2 separate regions of the Homo sapiens genome follow, and region 2 is linked to region 1. The links are contacts of gene promoters, found by promoter capture Hi-C in human tissues and cell types (Jung and others, 2019). All regions are on one chromosome and are shown on one strand. The core of a region is centred on a gene start or on the middle of the fragment in contact, and the rest is flanking DNA. Distances in the headings are between cores, read along the strand shown.

Region 1 (7,107 bases), core at 598-3,097:
ATTTTTTTAGGCTGCTTTGATGTTGACTTGAGACTAGGAAAAAAAAAAGCCCATTGTGTTAAGCGGGAGTGTATAGTTCAAGTTCTATAGCCTGGGCCCTGATAATTCTACTTACAGCTTTCTGTATTACTGGGAATAGATATAGTGTGTCATTTCTTAGGTTCAGAAGAAATTGATAGCTTTGCAGTAATCTGTAAAACAATATAAACCTTAGGGTTTTGGGCCTGAACGAAAAGGTACTAGACCTTCCAGCACAACAGCTGGTAATTCTAAATTTTTAAGAAGGTGATCAGCTTCTATGGTGAAAATCAGCTATAACACAGGATTTGTGTAGCAATTTTCATGTTTTTGACTACTTGAAAGTACTTTTCACTTGATTATCAGAACAGCATTTGGTAAAGATGGGACAAGTATTCCTAATTTACATATGAAGAAACTGATATTGTGTAAAAATAAAATGACCAGGACCAGTTTTTTTGACTTCATATCACAGACTTACCCTTTTTCTTTTACATTTTTGCTTTAAACCCAAATGCTTAATTTTTTGACCTACGATGTTTTCCTAGGGGGAAATGACCAGATATAGATCATTCTTGCAGCCCAAACTTTGTTGTTTTTTAAGTCTTCAAGGGGAATACTAAGGTAACCGCAGACAGTACAGGTCCCAGGTCCTATAGGAGGAAAAGCCATGACACCTTCCTAAAGGAATATTAGGATGTAAGACACAGCTTTGGAAAGTTGAATTGGTAGGAATGTGGTCATCAAATTAAAAGGAGGCTTATTTCACTGACTTCCAAGAGTTAGTGAATCATCTCTTGCCTAAACTCTTGCTACTCAAAATGTGATCCAGGGACCAGCAACATCTGGGAGATTTTTGGTGCTCAACTGAGGGTCTTACTCTGGTCCTACTGAATCAAAAGAGGCATTTTAACAATGTCTCTAGGTGATTTGTATGCACGTTAAATTTGAAAAGCATTGGCCTCAAATGGTGGTTCTCAGGGTAATTTTGCCTCCCAGAGGACATACGGAAAAGAGACATTTTTATACCTCTGTGGGGAAGATAACTGGCATTTGGTGGGTGGAAGTTAGGGATGCTGTTAAACATCTTACATTGTACAGAACATGCCCCCTCCCCCAACAAGAAATTATCCTGTCCTAAATGCCGGTAGTGCTATCGCTGAACAACCCTAACCTAAAATGGTGGTTCTCAAGCTTTTAAGTGCATGGACTCACCTTGGGGTTTATTAAAACATAGGTTGCTGTTCCCTTCGAGTTTCAGATTCAGTAGAACTGGAATGGGCCTGAAACTTTGCATTTCTAACAAGTTCACAGGTGCTGCTGCTACTGCTGTTGTTGCTGGTCTAGAACCACTTTCAGAACCACTGGCCTAGAACAACCATGAAAGCATTAAGGTAAGGTGCTTGTACTAATTGGGATATAATGGTAATACTAAAGCTACCACTTACTGAGAGCTTAGTGGGTGTCAGGTGTTGCTAAGCGCTCACGACACTAGGTCACAGGTATTTACAAAAATTTTGCAGATTAGGAAAGTATGGCATCGAAATATTAAATTTTCTAAATCACAGCTAATTTCCTAATTGGTAGATCTCCGTCTGAGGTCGACGCCAAAGGCCGAGTTTTTAACCATCACGCCCACTGCCTAAAGCAGTTCTAAGATTAAGAGTTTGTTCCTTCTATGGTAAGCCCATGGCTACTCGGGATGGAGTAGCTATGGGTCCAGAGTGACGATGGCAACTCAGCAACAAAACAATTCATTTAGAGTGCACCGGGAGGAAGGGGCGGGACTTCGGCTGCGGAAGAGGCGGGCCTAACTAGCAGGAAGTCCGGGGTTGACGATGGCTGTGTTGTTGAAGGGCCTGTAGCCGGGGGGTTCCTGGCCGGATCCCGGTCTACCCTTAGCCCAGACTCGTTCCGGACCCCAGCCCGGCCCGGAACACTCTGGGCGAGACGGCGGTGGCAACTCTCCCCTTGCCGCCATGCACGACGCTTTCGAGCCAGTGCCGATCCTAGAAAAGCTGCCTCTGCAAATCGACTGTCTGGCTGCCTGGGGTGAGCCGAGGGGCCGCGGGGCCGAGGCGGAGTCAGCACAGGAGCGGTCCGGATCTTTTCTGAGGCCGGGGAAGTGGACAGGCGTCCATCCGTGTGGGCTTCGGTTGGATGCTACACGAGAGGGGCTTAGGATGAGAGAAGGCAGAGAGATGACCACCGGCTATAGACATCGATGTCTGTGGGGCTACTTGGGTGATCCCAGTGATCCAGTCATTTAGGGGAGTTCCCCTTGCTTTTGCTCTCTGTGCAGAGTGGGAGGATGAGCTTTCCTTTTTAGTTGTGCTCAGCTTTGGCCCATTTTGATTCCCACGAAGACTTCATTTTAGAGGGTCAAAGCAGTAAGAAGTTCTCAGCCTGCCAGGGGCTTGAAGTTGTCCAGATGTTTGTGTTGTTTTCTAGATGAAAGTCAACCCTGGTTTTGGGGGCATTGAACAAGTTAACACCATATGCTTTTTTTTCCCCTTAGTGATCATTCGTTCATTTCTCATTCCTGTAGGGAACTCATGTAGTTAGCTAACCTTTGAATCTAGCCAAGCGGTTGATTACCTTATATCCAAAGTGTCCAAGTTACCTAACTGTAGGCGGAAGAGTTTCCAGACTGTCTTGAAACCTAACCCATAAAAACTAGCATAGTCCTTTTGGGATTGACTAGTGCAGAAGGCCGGGACAGACATCTCTTGTGTGCTCTGAAATACAAATGAAGGTTTCAGGGATAACGGTGAACATTGTGCTCTTATCCGTGAGTGACTGGTTTGATACCAGCCGCCAAAGACCAAGGAAATCATTTCTAACTTTCCTCTTAATGTTTAGGTCCTAGAAATCAAGGACCATAAAAAGATGATTCAGATCCCTTAATCAGATCTTATACTGAGCTAGATAGGTAACCATGATGGGCCTTATGGAATCTTGGTGGTGTCTGATACCATGTGCGTCAGCTGTTCACAGTGTCACCGAGTCATCCTTGCAGAGTTCTTGATGACTTCTTCTGTAGGGTTCTTTCACGAAGAATTTTCATGTTAATGTGCACCCTTCCTCCTTTAGCAGCTCTGGGTCTCTTTAAAATCATACCTCCACAGTAAGCAGTTCTAGTCCTTTGGGTTAAGAGGAGAATCCTACTTCCTCCAGACATCTCAAGAAAACCAATTTCTGTCATTAAATGCTCTCATTAAACATTTAAATAGAGGAGGAGAAAAAGTTTTTAAATGAAAGACCTGACACTGCATGAAAGGATTAATTCCCCCATTGCTTCATCAGATATACTTATTAGGTGGCTACACGGGCCATTCTCTTTGCTTGGGACAGTAATACAATGATGAATAAGAAACAGTGCCTGTGCTCCTAGGACACACACTGGGGGACAAATACACGTGAACAGATTATAATACTAGAGACATATGCTGCCTATTATTGCAACATGGATGAGGGGGTACCCAACTCAGCTAAGGACATATGTTTCTGAAAGGGATTAATGCAGCTGTGGCTACACTTGACTTAGCTCGTCAGAATCCTTGACTCTGATCTCCTGTTGGACCATTAGCACATAGTGCTCCTAGACTCTCACCAACTCCACTTTGTCACAGTAAAGATTCCTTGCACCTGTGGTTTTCAGGAACACAGTTTTGAAACAATAGGTAGCTTTTGGCCTTCCTTGATCACCCACCGAACAGGAGAAATGCTCTTTGGTTCCTAAGGTGCTTAGGTACATATTAGGTTACAAGAGGCCATTAACTGCCTCCTGCTTCAAAAGTGCTTTATTTCCAGATTTGAGCAGCAGTAATTATTGCTCTTTCTAGTCATTACCCCTTTTTAACTACATTGTGCCTTTGGATGGAAAGTTCGTCCAGGAACTTCCAGAGGCAGGTCACACAGGGCCAAATAGTATTTGAGGTGTAAATGTCTTAGAGACAACATACTCTGTCTCCTGGGAAATAGAAATCAGGAGAGAACATGATGAGGATGATTTCTTTCTAAACTCCAAAGTTGTATAATCCTGCTGCCTTTTCAGCATCTTCATTTGGATGTCCAGTAGCATAGCCAAAACCGTTCTTGATTCCTCTCCCCTCAAACATGCCTGTCCTCCTGTATCTTACGTCTCAGCAAGTGGCATTTCTATTTACCTCTTTGACTAAAGCCAAAAGCTTTGGAATCGTTCTTGACTTCTTTCATTCTGTTTTACACTGTATCCCATCTATCAGCAAATCTTGTGTGTTCTACCCCTAGAATAAATCTGAAATCCAGTCATTTCTCTCTATCTTGATGATTACTACTCTTGAAGGCACCATCATCTGTCACCTGAATTACTGTAGTAGTCTTCTCATTGATCACCCTATATTTGCCAGTGTGCCATTTTCAGTTTTTTGTCTACCAGGTAGAGTGAAACTTTGAAAACCTAAATCTGATTCCATCCTCTACTCAAAACCCTCTCATGGTATCACATCACAACTAGAATAAGTTCCAAAGTTTTCACCCTGTCTGGCAACATCTGACATGATCAGGCCCTGATTTCTTCCCTGTCTTCTGTGTACTTACCTCTCACTCCTTTCTGGTACCAGTCCCACACAGCCTTCTTTGTTCCATCAATGCACAAAGCACATACCCACCTCAGGGCCTTTACATTTGCTGTTTCCTTGGCCTGGCACTCACTTGCCTTTGTATATATGGTTCATTCCTCATTTCACTCAGTTCTCTGCTGAAATGTCACCCAAATCAGCAAAACCTTCCCTGTGTATCCTATATAAAAGAGATTGCCACATCCACCAATGTGCTGTTTTCTTAGCCTTATCTTCTAATCATGGGTCACCATCTACTGTTATTTTATATATTTAATTATTATTGCCTCTCTCACTCCACATTAGAATATAAGTTCCCTCAGGGCAGTATCTTTGTTTTCTGCATTGCTATATCTGCAGTACCTAAAACATTTCCTGACTCAATGGGTATTCATTAAATATATATTTAATGAATAATGTTAATATGAATAGTAATAGCTTGCAGTTGTTAAATGCTAATCTGTATTAGGCTTTTATAAAATAAGACTCCATTTTACAGAAGAAAGACCTAAGGCTTAGAAAATTTAAGAAATTTTTCCAAGGTCACATGTCCTGTAAATCATGTCTGCTTCTAGAGCCTGGTTCTCAAACTTGAATGTATATTCAAAGCCTGTAAAAAATGCAGACTTCACATGTATATATGAGTATCTGTATGTCTATATATACATACATACCTATATTTTCCAGAGAAACAATGGAAAGATAAGTCAAAAATTACTAAAATGATGCCCATAGCAGAAGGGAGAAGAGAGGATAAAATGGACAATGATAGAAACTAGACTTTTCGTCGTTTTAGCTTTGGAACTACATGAATGTTTCATAAAAACAAATAAAATTTAATTTAATTTTATTTTATTTTATTTTATTTCATTATTATTTTTTGAGACTGAGTCTCGCTCTGTCGCCCAGGCTGAAGTGCAGTGGTGCAATCTCAGCTCACTGCAACCTCTGCCTCCCAGGTACAAGCCACTGTCGTGCCTCAGCCTCCCGAGTAGTTAGGATTACTGCCACCCACCACCATACCTGGCTTATTTTTGTAGTTTTAGTAGAGACGGGGTTTCGTCATGTTGGCCAGGCTGGTCTCAAACGCCTGACCTGAGGTGATCCGCCCACCTCGGCCTCCCAAAGTGCTGGGATTACAGGCGTGAGCCACTTTGCCCAGCCAACAAGATTAAATTTTAAAATGTAAATTTCAGGGTACCACTTCAAAGCCATTGAATCTGAATCTCCATGTGCAGGGCCCAGGAATGTGCATTTTTAATAAGTCCAGGTGATTCTAATGCAGCTAATTGGGGGCTTATGCCCAGATGAGAAGTACTGTTATTTGCCATGTTACCCAACGAAGGGAAGTGACTACTATCTTACTTATCTTTGTGGTCCCTGCAGTGGCCAGCATTGGGCCAGAAATGGAATTTATTACATGAAGTTGGACTGCATTGCACTGTTGGAAGGAGCTCCATTAGGGTAATTATGAGCAATAGGGCCTAGCCCTCCTTCTCAGGAGGAATTAAGTCCAACCTTGTGGCTCAGGGTTAGGCCGTCAGGAGTTTTTTAGGGCTGATACTGCTTTGCTTATGTGTGCGTTTTGTGTTTGCTTAGTATGTCTCACTTTCTGTTGTGTGTTACTGTATTGAGTCTCAGAAGGCACTGTCCATCCCATGCTGCGCGTGCTCTGCAGGCTTGTCATCCTCTGTGTTGTGCATGCACAGCTTTGTTAAATAACGTGTCCTAGAGAGTGGAGGACCCAACATGGGACAGGTCCTCTGGCTAATGGCACATGTAATCAATCAGGTTGATTTAAAAGTTTACAGAGAATTTAATCCATCGGATTGATTCCCTTTTATGACCAGTAGAATAGACATTTTATTTTTTTAATTAATTTTTTTTTTGGAGGCAGAATTTCACACTTGTCACCCAGGCTGGAGTGCAATGGCGCACAATCTCCACTCACTGCAACCTCCGCCGCCAGTGTTCAAGTGGTTCTCCTGTCTCAGCCTCCCTAGTACCTGGGATTACAGGTGCTCACCAGCACACCTGGCTAATTTTTTTTTTTTTTTTGAGACAGAGTCCTGCCCCGTCACCCAGGCTGGAGTGCAGTGGTACGATCTCAGCTCACTGCAGCCTCTCCCTCCGGGGTTCATGCAGTTCTCTTGCCTCAGTCTCCTGAGTAGCTGGGATTACAGGCACACACACCACCATGCCTGGCTAATTTTTTTTGTATTTTTAGTAGAGATGGGTTTCCACTGTGTTGGCCAGACTGGTCTTGAACTCCTGACCTCAGGTGATCTGCCCGCCTTGGCCTTCCAAAGTGCTGGGATTACAGGCATGAGCCAACCACACTCGGCCTAATTTTTATATTTTTTAGTAGAGACGGGGTTTCACCATGTTGGCCAGGCTAGTCTCAAACTCCTGACCTCCAGTGATTCGCCCACTTCGGCCTCCGTGCCCGGCCCCTAGACATTTGACTTTTTAAAATGTTTTGTCATGT
Region 2 (7,209 bases), core at 198-2,697, 450 kb before region 1:
GTCTCACTCTGTTGCCCAGGCTGGAGTGCAGCGGTGTGATCTCAGCTCACTGCAACCTCTGCCTCCCAGGTTCAAGCAATTCTCCTGCCTCAGCCTCCCGAATAGCTGGGATTACAGGTGCCTGCCATCACGCCCAGCTAATTTTTTCTATTTTTAGTAGAGAGGGGTTTCACCATGTTGGCCAGGCTGGTCTCAAACTCCTGACCTCAAGTGATCCGCCTGCCTCGGCCTCCCAAAGTGCTGGGATTACAGGCATGAGCCACTGCGCCTGGCCCAGATTTGTTCTTTTTGCTTAGTCTTGCTTTGGCTATGTGGGCTCTTTTTTGGTTCCATATGAATTTTAGGACTGTCTTTTCTAGTTCTGTGAAGAATGATGGTGGTATTTTGATGGGGATTGCATTGAATTTGTAGACTGCTTTAGGCAGTATGGCCATTTTCACAATACTGATTCTACCCATCCATGAGCATGAGATATGTTTCCATTTGTTTGTGTCATATATGATTTCTTTCAGCGGTGTTTTGTAGTTCTTCTTGTACAGGTCTTTCACCTCCTTGGTTAAGTGTATGCCTAAGTATTTTTTTTTTTCAGCTATTGTAAAAAATGTTGAGTTCTTGATTTGATTCTCAGCTTGTCTGCTGCTGGTGTATAGCACAGCTACTGATTCATGTACATTAATTTTGTATCTTGAAACTTCGCTGAATTCATTTACCAGTTCCAGGAGCTCTTTGGATAAGTCTTTAGGGTTTTCTAGGTATACAATCATGTTGTCAGCGAACAGCAACAGTTTGACTTCCTCTTTACTGATCTGGATGCCCTTTATTTCTTTCTCTTGTCTCATTACTCTAGCTAGGACTTATGGTTACTATTATTATGGTATATCTTTTTCCATCCTTTTACTTTCAACCTGTGTCTGTGATTCTAAGGTGTGTTTCTTATAGACAGCATGTAGTTGGGTCTTGCTTTTATGCAATCTGAAAATTTGTACCTTAGGCAATTCACACTTAATGTATTTAATAATTATTGATGTGCTCAGAACCATCCATGTCTGATTTTTCTTTTTTCTGTGTCTCATATCTCCTTTGTTCCTCTGTTCTTCCTCCACTGCCTTTAACTGTTAGGTATTTTTATTAATATGTACCATTTTAATTTCTGTTGTTTTTTCTGCCCAGAGGAGGCAGAAGAAATGTTGATTTTTAAAATTGTATTTTTGAGCTATTTTCTTAGTACTTGCTCTACAGATTACAATACATATCTTTATTTATGATCTACTTTAAAATAATACTAACTTAATTCCTGTAAAATATAGTAACTCTACTTAAATATATCTCCTTTCATTTCCCTTGTGCTGTTATTTTCATATATGACAATGTACAAAAATGCATTGTTACAATTGTGGTTTTATGTAATCTTATTCTTTTATTGACATTAGGAGAAGAAACGAGAAAGAATGTAGGTTTTTTTTATATTTACTCACACATTTATCATTCCCAGATATTTCACTGTCTCCTATAGATTTAAGATACTTTCTAATATCACTTTCTTTCAGCCTAGAAGATTTCATTTAGTTTTCTTGTCAGGTAAGTCTGCTGGCAATAAATTCTACTTTTTATTTTTCCAATCTGGGAATGTTCTTATTGCCAGTTTTTTATATTATCTCAGCCCCCTGACTTCTAAGGGTTCAATGCTTCTGATGAGAAGTCAGCCATTCATCACGTAATTGTTCTACTGTATAAGTCACTTTTCTCTAGCTGTTTTTAAGATTTTCTCTTTGTCTTTCAACAGTTTAACTATGATGTGTCTAGGTGTGGATCTCTTTGTGTTTATTTTACTTGGAGTCCTTTGAGCTTCTTAGATCTATAAATGATTTTCAACAAATTTAGGAAGTTTTTAGTCATCATTTTATTTTGGGTGTGGTACTTCTCACTTTGTTACATTCCTTTAATCTATTTTCAGACCACAGAAAGGATTTTGTCCAGCTTTATAGTTGCTTTTTGGGGATATGACTTGACCTCCTCAATCCATCACAATGGAAGTGAATCTTCTAATATTTCATTTTAATGCTTATTTTCTTTTCAACCTTTTGTTTTAAATGTCCATACTGATCACACCGATGTGAAAGCGTTTTAAAATGTTAAAAATAAATATAAGCAGAAGATATTTTGATTAGTCTTTATAAAATGCTTCTACCCATTCTAGGTGTATAGCTTAACGGATTGTGTGTAAATCCGGTTTACAATATTAGGTTCTATCAGAGGACCTATAAATATGAGAGTAGGAGGAAAGGAAAAGAAACAGGGCCGGGAACGATGGCTCCCATCTGTAATGCCAGCACTTAGGCAGGCCGAGCCAGGTGGATCATCTGAGGTCAGGAGTTTGAGACCAGTCTGGCCAACATGGTGAAACCCCGTCTTTACTAAAAATTAAAAAATAATTAGCCGGGCATGGTGGCGTCTCCTGTAATCCCAGCTATTTGGGAGGCTGAGGCAGGAGAATTGTTTGAGCCTGGGAGGCAGAGGTTCAGGTGAGCCGAGATCGCGCCACTGCACTCCAGTCTGGGCAACAGACTGAGACCCTGTCTCAAAAACCAACAAACAAAAAAAGAAATAGGAAGGAAGACAAGAAAGTGGTTTAAAGGTACAAGGAGAGGAAGAAATCTCACCAAACATAAGGAGTTACCAACCTGCGTGTAGTGGATCGTGAAAATGGCGTGGGATCTGCTGCTGGCCTCATGAACATGGGTGGCTGCTGTGATTCTGTGTATACAAGGAAAAACTGTTAGGACGAGGATTGTTTACACATGGTGGATTCTTAAGGATCCATACAGAATACAAGAAATGTTAGTGCTGAGGTTCACCGACAAGAATCATAAAACACACATATTTAGTCCAGTATCGTGAAGAGAATAGTCCAAAGAGGGCAGAAGCAGCACTCTAGGTGCTGATATCTGAGCATAAAACGGAGTGTAGCTTCATACTAAACTACACTGAAACTTTTTTTTTTTAAGCAATAGAAGCAAAAATTCAAGTGAAAAGGGAAATGAAGACTAGAGCGTCATCATCCTGGAAGAACATGCCCAAGATAGACCCATTTTATTTTATTCTTTCACTTTATTTTATTTTATTCTTGGAGTCATTTTAATAAGACAAGTGGATGTAGAAAGCTTGCTAGAGAAGATACCTCAAAGACAGAGAAGGTAAGTTTTGATTAAACACAGAATATTAATTCTACAGTGTCAGAAAGATCTTGGAAATGAGATCTTAAATCACATCAATATCATGCTTAAGCCAGGCGGAATTCACAGTCTCCCTTAGAAATCCATTACAGTGTTAACCCTTAAAGTCAGGAGAGGTTTTCCTTTATCTAAGAGCATCTCACTGAGCTCTGTTCTCAGAGGATCTGGAGAATTGAAGAAAAGGGCCAAAATCTAGAGGCTAGTCTCATGATTCAAGCCTGACACTGAAAAATCATGGAGCTCAGGGTACCCTGAAGACCAGAAGTAAGTGTCTCCAGGAGAGTTCCATGAAGCTCAGGAGAATGTTAAATTTAAATTTCTTCCTTTATGTTCAATTAACTTGGTCCTGCTATTAACAGGATAAATAGAAGGCTCTAAAGACCTTTTTACCCCAGAAAAAAAAAGCCTTTTTTAGGGACATTTACTAGTAATATTCTAGGTATTTCATAGTAACTTACAACATGAAATGTTATTACAATTTACAATAGCTTTTAGGGGAATCTACAGCACCTAGTTATTCATAGCAGATTCAAAACAGTCTTTTGAGGGGCTACCTTATAAGTATGCAAAACTAGAAAAAAATGTTTTTATGAACCTTTTACACTATATTCATCCTTATATCTATCAAACCTGAGGAGAGGACAATGCAGGTAAGAACCCTTTCTTCCAAATTTAGAAGCTCTAAACAAAATATAGAGTAACTTCCTTGGGCTTACTGCCTAATATTATTATGTCCAGAACAGATTCCAGCTTCATTACTAGTGAGAAGAGACTAAATCTTAGTCACCACCCCTTACCCTGTGAACACTATTGTTCTGGGAAGAGCCTCCTGGTTGTGAACATCTCTACACACAGAGACAATTTTAAGTGTCATTATACACTCCCCAAAGGGAAATGGGAACACAGGATAGGAGTGTGAGGATAAAAGAATGACAGAAACAAACAAACCTGTTACCTGTTTGCAATTCCCTCCTCCAAGAGTTGGATTACTTGCTTATAATTGGTAACTACATGTTGAGATAAACCTATCGGATTTGTGAAACGGAAAAAAGAAATTAAATGAGATTTTTGGTAAACTTTAACCTTTTCTTGTAAGTCTTTATCATTCCTATTTCATATTGTTTAATAGACAAAAATGAGGGAATCTGGCCAAATTCATTCAGATAATAAATTAAATCAAGAAATATTTATTGGAAACCTCTTGTCAGGTATATGATAGACTCTAGGAATATAGGTCTCTGTCCTCACAGAGATTATGGTCTATAAGTCATATAGACCATATGCTAACAACAACTATAATTCCTTACAGTTCTGCTATATAGGTTATAAGAACTGTTCTCATTTGGCCCTCACAAAGTCCCTGAGGTAGGCCAGTGTTGTTTTCCCCACAAGGTGGCAGACTCGGTTTGGCATACAAAATACACAGTACACTCATCTCTGTCCTCCCACAGTTTACAATCATGGTAAGTTACACTACACAAGACAATATGGCCAAGTGCCACAGGAGTTGGAAAGATGATACATGATGAGGAGATCAGAGGCGTGGTCAGGACAGGTTCCACAGAAGAAGTGAGACTTAAATTTAGCCACTATAGAATGGGGAGGCTTTAGATAGGTGAAGAGGAGCCTACGGGCATGAAAGTAAATCTTCATGGCTGGTTACTGACCAAGTCCCAAAGGCCTTCCCAACTGTTCCAGAGAATCTCTGTATGAGAGATTCAAAAACAAAGTAACTTCATGGGCTTATTGCTAAATACAATTACACCCAAAATAACAAAGTAACATAAATGAAACCAACAAAAATAATAGTCAATAGAAAGCAATCCAAGAAAGACCCAGATACTGAAGCTACCAGGCCGACTTAAAAGTAACCCTGAAGGCTGGGCACTGTGGTTCATGCCTGTAATCCCAGCACTTTGGGAGGCCGAGGCGGGCGGGCCTGAGGTCAGGAGTTTGAGACTAGCCTGGCGAACATGGAGAAACCCTGTCTCTGCTAAAAATGCAAAATTAGCTGGGTGTGTTGGTGCATGCCTGTAATCCCAGCTACTCGGGAGGCTGAGACAGGAGAATCCCTTGAACCTGGGAGGCGGAGGTTGTGGAGAGTCGAGATCGCGCCATTGCACTCCAGCCTCGGCAACAAGAGCGAAACTCCATCTCAAAAAAAAAAAAAAAAAAAAAGGCCAGGCTCGGTGCCTCATGCCTGTAATCCCAGTACTACTTTGGGAGCCCAAGGCAGGTAGATCATGAGGTCAGGAGTTCCAAGACCAGCCTGGCCAAGATGGTGAAACCCCACCTCGACTAAAAATACAAAAAATTAGCTGGACATGGTAGCGGGAGCCTATAGTCCAAGCTACTCAGGAGGCTGGGGCAGGAGAATCACTTGGACCTAGGAGGCAGAGGTTGCAGTGAGCTAAGATCTCACCATTGCACCCCAGCCTGGGCGATAAGAGCAAAACTTCGTTTCAAAAAAAAAAAAAAGTAACTCTGCTTAATATTTTCAAGGAGTTTAAAGACAAGATTGTAAACTTGGAAACTATAATGAAATAATAAAATGGATATCTGAGAAATAATACTGTAAGTGAAAATAAAAACTCAATATAAAGTTTAATAGCAGGTTAGACATAGCTGAAGAAAGAATGAGTGAGCAGGAAGATAGATCAGAAACATACTCAAAATTTAGCACAGAGAGACAAAAGATTAAAAATATGGAGGGAGCCGGGTGCAGTGGCTCACGCCTGTAATCCCAACACTTTGGGAGGCTGAGGCGGGTGGATCATGAGGTCAGGAGTTCAAGACCAGCCTGACCAACGTGGTAAAACCCCGTCTCTCATGAAAATACAAAAATCAGCCGGCTGTGGTGGTGCGCGACTGTAATCCCAGCTACTCGGGAGGCTAAGGCAAGAGAATCGCTTGAACCCAGGAGGTGGAGGTTGCAGTGAGCTGAGATTGCGCCATTGCACTCCAGCCTGGGCAACACAGCGAGGCTCCATCTCAAAGAAAAAAAAATGGAGGCTAGGTGTGCACACCTGTAATCTCAGCTACTTGGGAGGCTGAGGCAGGAGGATCCCTTGAGCCCAGGAGTCCAAAACCAGTCTGGGCAACATTAGCAAGACTTCATGTCTAATAAATAAATTAATTAATTAAATATAGAAGAAATGGTAAGACTCACAGAGTATACAGGCAATAGGCCTTAACATACCTGTAATTAGAGTCCCAAAAGAAGAGGAAAGAATGGGATAGAAGGATTATTATAAGAGGTAATGGTAGTGGAGGGAAGGGGGGAAAAAAGGGAAAGGTAATGGCTAAGAACTTTCCAAAACTGATAAGAAGATACAAAAGCACAATTCAAGAATCCCAGCATGATTTTTTAAAAACCTAAATCTACCCATAAGTAGACCATAATAAACTGTTCAAAGACAAAAGTAAAAATATTGAAAAAATTAGACTAGGAGATGACTTCTCAGCAAAAACAGTGGAAAGCAGAAGAGAATGGTATAATTTTTAATGACTAAAAGAAAATAACCATCAATTTAAAATTCTGTACTCAGTGAACTTTACCTTCAAGAACAAGAAAAGCAGGCTGGGTATGGGGGCTCATGCCTGTAATCCCAGCACTTTGGGAGGCCGAGGCCAGTGGATTACTTTCGGTCAGGAGTTCAAGATCAGCCTGGCCAACATGGTGAAACCCCATCTCTACTAAGAGTACAAAAATTAGCTGGGCACGGTAGCATGTGCCTGTAATCCCAGCTACTCGGGAAGCTGAGGCAGGAGAATTGCTCAAACCCAGGAGGCGGAGGTTGCAGTGAGCCGAGATCGCGCCACTGCACTCTAACCTGGGTGACAGAGCAAGACTCCATCTCAAACAAACAAACAAAAAGCCAAAAGAGAACTTGTCAATAGCAGATCCACACTAGAGGGAAAACAAGATTATTCTTGAAGTAGAAGGCACTCAGAGATAAAAGGTAGGATATTCTTT

Evidence for each region. Contacts are between HindIII fragments. The study calls those that stand out against the background at their distance.
Region 2: a fragment that was not itself captured here is called in contact with the fragment with the promoter of VPS39 in region 1 in 1 of the 25 tissues and cell types used here (lymphoblastoid cells).

What each region holds. Positions count from the first base shown.
Region 1 is chr15:42,203,044-42,210,150 of GRCh38, reverse strand. VPS39 (VPS39 subunit of HOPS complex) reads left to right here and starts at 1,847. Exons shown (of 25, transcript NM_015289.5): 1 at 1,847-2,070. The coding sequence starts at 1,998. VPS39-DT (VPS39 divergent transcript) reads right to left here and starts at 1,750. Exons shown (of 3, transcript XR_932181.3): 1 at 1,467-1,750; 2 at 1,234-1,387. The HindIII fragment of the contact is 8,677 bases long and covers 1-6,927 here.
Region 2 is chr15:42,648,065-42,655,273 of GRCh38, reverse strand. STARD9 (StAR related lipid transfer domain containing 9) reads right to left here. Exons shown (of 33, transcript NM_020759.3): 8 at 4,189-4,258; 9 at 2,682-2,754. Among named protein-coding and RNA genes, the nearest start is that of STARD9, 76 kb to the right of the region's middle. The HindIII fragment of the contact is 8,421 bases long and covers 1-5,657 here.